2 separate regions of the Homo sapiens genome follow, and region 1 is linked to region 2. The links are contacts of gene promoters, found by promoter capture Hi-C in blood cells and fetal thymus (Javierre and others, 2016). All regions are on one chromosome and are shown on one strand. Each heading gives the region's core, a stretch centred on a gene start or on the middle of the fragment in contact. The rest is flanking DNA. Distances are from core to core; before and after follow the strand shown. Region 1 holds the start of LINC01545 (long intergenic non-protein coding RNA 1545). Region 2 holds the start of ELK1 (ETS transcription factor ELK1).

What was found. The method cuts DNA at HindIII sites, captures the fragments that hold promoters and counts their contacts. A CHiCAGO score of 5 or more calls a contact.
Region 1: a contact is called between the fragment with the promoter of LINC01545 here and the fragment with the promoter of ELK1 in region 2, in 1 of 17 cell types (monocytes). The highest score is 6.7, in monocytes.

The regions. Positions count from the first base shown.
Region 1 is chrX:46,898,454-46,901,153 of GRCh38, forward strand. It overlaps LINC01545 (long intergenic non-protein coding RNA 1545), which reads right to left and starts at 1,251. Exons shown (of 4, transcript NR_046101.1): 1 at 1,151-1,251. The HindIII fragment of the contact is 5,808 bases long and covers 1-2,700 here.
Region 2 is chrX:47,649,282-47,651,981 of GRCh38, forward strand. ELK1 (ETS transcription factor ELK1) reads right to left here and starts at 1,282. Exons shown (of 7, transcript NM_001114123.3): 1 at 1,142-1,282; 2 at 640-745. It overlaps UXT (ubiquitously expressed prefoldin like chaperone), which reads right to left. Exons shown (of 7, transcript NM_004182.4): 7 at 2,515-2,614. The coding sequence ends at 2,561. RefSeq lists a cis regulatory region at 745-1,725 and a silencer at 1,057-1,466. The HindIII fragment of the contact is 5,079 bases long and covers 1-2,700 here.

The DNA of each region.
Region 1 (2,700 bases), core at 1-2,500, 750 kb before region 2:
TTTAGTTTTTATCTTTGTGCTGTATTTAATTGTATCATCACAGGCCACATTAAATCATTTCTGGAAGATCAGTTTTAAATAAATAGATGAATAAAAAAATAGCAGTTAAAAAAAGGGAGAGAAAAGATTTAAGAACATTTCTAAAAGTAACCCCAAAATTTCTTCAGGGGGATAAAAAGTGGGATGATTTGGGAGGTCGAGGTGAGAGGATTAGCTGAGACCAGGAGTTTGAGACCAGCTTGGACAAGACGGCAAGATCCTGTCTCTACAAAAAAAAAAAAAAAAAAAAAAAAATTTAATTAGCTGGGCATAATGGCATGTACCTATAGTCCTAGCTACTTGGGAGGCTGAGGCAGGAAGATCACTTGAGCCCAGGAGTTCAAGGTTACAGTAAGCTATGATCACACCACTGCACTCCAGCCTAGGCGACCCTGTCTCAAAAACAAAAATGAAACAGTGGAATGAAATCATTTGGGTAATGTCTCCCAGACAAGTAAAGTATTCCCAAGAAATTTCTGAAGGAATTAAGGAAAATTATTGATGTTATGATTAAAAAACAAACAAACAAACTGGTTCTACTATAGAATAATAGACATTGGCAACTCAGAAGGATGGGAGGGTGGTGAGGAATAAGAAATTACTTAATGGGTACAATGTATATTATTCAGGTGATGGTTATGCTAAAAGCCTGGACGTTACAACTATGCATTATATCCACGTAACAAAACTGCACTTTTACCCCTTAAATGTACACAAATTTTTTGAAAACTGGTTCTTGCACCTCAACAGACACATAGGATTTATGAATGGACTTGGATAGAGCATAGAGGAAGGCCTGGAGCAGTTTTCATGGGCTTTTGTCTCCTATGGCCCTGGTGCGTCTATCTTCAGGAAGCTAAATACAGAGGCTTCTGAGAATTCACTTAGATGATGGTTCCCAAGAGGAACAACTCTCTCCTAAGCCACACATGGGGCAGTTTACTTCTAATATGGAAAATTATGGGTCGGGCATGGTGGCTCATGCTTGTAATCCCAGTACTTTGGGAGGCCAAGGCGGGCAGATCACTTGAGGTCAGGAGTTCAAGACCAGCCTGGCCAACATGGCAAAACCCTGTCTCTACAAAAATTAGCCAGGCATGGTGGCGTGCACCTGGGAGGCTGAGGCAGGAGAATTGCTTGAATCCAGGAGGCAGAGGTTGCAGTGAGCTGAGATCGCACCACCGCACTCTAGTCTGGGCGACAGAGCAAGACTTCATCTAAAAAAAAGAAAGAAAAGAAAGAAAGAAAATTATGGATAGTCTCTGAAGCTGAGCATTCTCTGGAGTCAGACACTTTCTTAATCCCTTTTGAAATTTCTGATGGAGAAAAATCCAATCCAAAGAAAGAATATGAAATCCAGGGAAAATTAGTTTTTTTTTCTTAAGTGCATATAAGTTATGGATTTATATATAAAATAAAGATAGTGATTGTATCAGTCAGGATTCTAACAGAGAAACAGAACCATTAGGAGACACATGTAGATATAGATATAGATATAGGTATAGATATAGATGAACTGGCTTATGTGATTGTGGTGGCTAGCTAGGCAAGCCTGAAATCTGAAATCCTTAGAGCAGGCCATCAGAAAGGACAGGCAGGAGTTCTCGAGCACAAGCCAATGCTGCTGTCTATGGGCAGAATTTCTTCTTCAGGAAAGCCTCCATTCTGCTATTAAGGCCTTTAACTGATTGATTCAGGCCCACCAGATTATCTAGGATAATCTTGTTTACATAAAGTCAACTGATTATAGACTTGATTCACATCTACAAAATACCTCTCAGCACCACCTAGATTAGATTTTAATGGAATAACTGGCTTATGTTAGCCAGTTATAAACTAGGGACTATAGCCTAGCTATGTTAACACATAAAACTGACCATTACAGGCCAGGTGCACAGTGGCTCATGCCTATAACCCCAGCACTTTGGGAGGCTGAAGCGGGCGGGTCACTTGAGACCAGGAGTTCGAGACCAGCCTGGCCTCAAGGCTGGTGAAACCTCGTCTCTACTAATAATACAAAAATTAGCCAGACGTGGTGGTGAGTGCCTGTAATCCCAGCTACTTGAGAGGCTGAGGCAGGAGAATCACTTGAATCCAGCAAGTGGAGGTTGCAGTGAGCCGAGATCACACCACCATACTCCAGCCTAGGCAACAGAGTAAGACTCCGTCTCAAAACAAAACAAAACAAAAAACAAAACTGACCACTACAGTGATGTTTGGTGTTTCATTTTGATTTTAACTTCCATCAGTGAACATTTTGTTCTTTGTGAAAATAAATCACAAGCTAAGATAGGCTTCTATGGAGAGAGTGTCAATATTACGGATCCATGGCATCAGTTGTAACATGTATTTGGTCTATGAAGGTCATTAGCCATCTGGTAAAAGGAAGCTATACTGATTATAACTCACTCATTGGGTGTATGCTATTACCTAATTCCACTAAACTGTTTTCCGTTCATTGATTTAAAAAGTTAGTTATTCAATTCAATTGAAGTTAACACCTGAGAAGGATTTCAAAGAACAGATGTGTATTTCATTTGTAGAAATCATTTTCTCATGTCACAAATGTTTAATGAATCCACTCTCCCTTGAGTTAGAAATGGTAGGTGCTTTGAAATACTTGAACCTACACAAGAGCAGAAAGCATTTTATTTTGAAGTG
Region 2 (2,700 bases), core at 32-2,531:
CAGGCTGACCCACTATTAAGAGGTGGAGGACAGGGAAGGCCGTACAGTGCTCCATCACAAGGAAAAGAGGATCAGCACGTTCTCTTCTGGGAAGGGAAAAAAAAAGAGAAGGAAATTGAAAGTACACGGCCGATCTTCCCCCAATTACAAAGCACTGGACTCACGGGAGGGTATGCGGGGGACTGTGCAAGCATACAGGGGTGTGGGGGAGGAAGGCCAATGAACAGATCCACTGCAAAGGGAGGGGTGATGAGGCTCATCGTCTGAGGGGAAGGGGAGCAGAAAACCTTACAGACTCCTGCACCACAGTGAGAGGAGAGAAAAGCCATCACACAGACTGATTCAAAGCAGAGAGGGAAAAGGCTATGGACTGAGCTACTGAAAATAGGGAGATGTAAAGCACTAAACTAACCCACTATTAAAAAGGAGAGAACCCCAAGCGCTAGAGCGACAGTCTACGAAAAAGAGGAGACAGGGCAATGGACTGATAGCTAAAGGGACGTGAATCCAAACATGAAGACTGATCCACTATAAAATGGTGGTGGTGGTGGTGGGGGGGGGGGGTGGTTTTGAAAAAAGCCATGGACTGATGCATTGGGGGACTGGAGGAGGCAGGAATACAAACTCAGGTAGACTCACTGTTAAAGAGGGATGCGGAGGAGTGCGGCGCCACGGATTGATTCGCTACGATGTACAGGAAGGGTGGAATAAATAAGGCCACGGACGGGTCTCCTGAAAGTTGAGGCTAGGAGAAATCCAAACACTCAGATACACCTACTATTAAGGGGGCTGAACACTGTCACAGGCTAGCTCCCTATAAGTGGGGGTGGGTGGGGGGCGGGTGGGGGTAGGGGTAGGGGGAAAGCCTATGGACGAGTCCACCCTAAGTTGGCGTGGGGAAAAACATAAGCACGCAGACCGATCCATTATACAACGGGAGGGGGAGGTTAGGCCACGGTCAGATCCACTATAAGGGACGAAGGGCTTGAGCAATGCCACACGCAGGTCCACCAGCCGTGGTGGTGGCGGCGGGGAGTCGAACACCAGCAGGCCACCGGCCAAGCCACATCCTCTGCGCGGGGGCGGGAAGGATACGTGGGGTCACGGACTGGGCCCTCCACCCTCCAGGCCCAGAGCTCACCTGTGTGTAGCGTGGCGGTGGCGTTGGCAATGTTGGCAGCTCCGGGGGGCGGGGGCTCCATACGCGGCCCCACCGCCCCCCAGGCCTGGGTTCCGAGGCGGCGGTGGAGGTGGTGGTGGCGGTGGCGGCGGCAGCACCTAGAAGCCGCCCCTGCGTTTCCCTACAGCTCACGTGGGCCCGAGGAGGAGGAGCCCAATGTCCCGCCGCTCGCTGATTGGCCAAAGCGCTATTAATCGGCCGCAAGGCCTCGAGGGGTTGGGGGACGGGCCCTTCCCTACAGAGCTGTGCCGTGATTGGCGTAAGGGGAAATGATGGAACGCTCACGGCCCCTGGAGTCCCGAGGAGGCGCGTTCGGCCTTCACGGTGCTCCACGCCGATTGGCTCAAGGACTGACGGACTGTGAGCAACTGAAAAGGCTCGGGGCCTGTGTCGGGGGGGCGGGGGTCTGCCTCACACTGATTGGCTTACATGGGATTGATGGAAGACAGCCCCCAAGGACGGGGGTGGGTGGCCCTGTTTTTCTCTGATTGGCGGACGAGGGACTTCTAGACCCCTGCCAAAACACCAAGGGGGCGGTGTCGCACGCCATGCTGCTCAGCGGAAGCAGGGCTTGTATAGAAATGGGCGTAGCAGCCGGCGGGAGTGGGTCGGACTGGGCTCCGCGTAGGCGGGCAGGGCAGCTCTACGGTTAGACAAGACCATAGAGCTGGGTAAAGACGAATTTAGAACACAGCGGAGGTAGGAGGGCAGGATGGCTGTCAGGCACACGAAAGAGCATTGAGTGGCAGAAACGAAATGCTTTCAGAGGGCAGGGTTGAACTGCGGCCAGAGTTAAAAAGGGGAGGAACCTGGCTCTGCATTGATTGGCGGTGGCTGGACTCAACCTAGAATAGGGGCCCGACTAGGGAGAGCGGGATCCAGGTCTGTGCCCATTGGAAGCTGGAACACTTACAAGCAGGGGCTAAGACAAGGTAGGGCTGAGTTAGGGTTTGGGTGTAATTTGGGGTACCTGGGGAATGATTGGGTGTGTGAAAGCGTAAACCTTAGGGCCCTTTGATTGTTGTGGGAATGAACAAACCTCCACCATGAATTGGCCCATTCTCTATGGCAATTCAAAGGGTGGCGTCTAGGAAAAGGAATGGAAGAAAGGGTGAGGTGGGGGGCCCAGGTTGCCAAGATGACAGAAGAGAGGGCAGTGCATAAGGTCAACTGGCAAATACTGCCAGGCAACAGGCTGGAGGCAGGACTGCTGGGGCATTTTGGAGGTTCCACAGAGAGACTGGATCTCTGGGTCTCTCAGTAACTTTGTGCCCTAGGAACAGGCCCCCGTGGCAACTAGCAGGGTTTATGGGGAAAAAGAAGGGCCATGTGACTCAAAGGCATTCAGGCTCTTTAATGTCTGAGGATGGGGGGAAGAAGTCAATGGTGAGGCTTCTCTGGGAAATTCTGCAGGCCTTGTAGTTCTCTAAGCCCCTGAAAAAGAGGACAGAAGAGATTGAACAAAGACTGGGTCTGGGTTACGCCCCCAGGCTTGCTCTGACCTCCCTCCCTTGACTCCA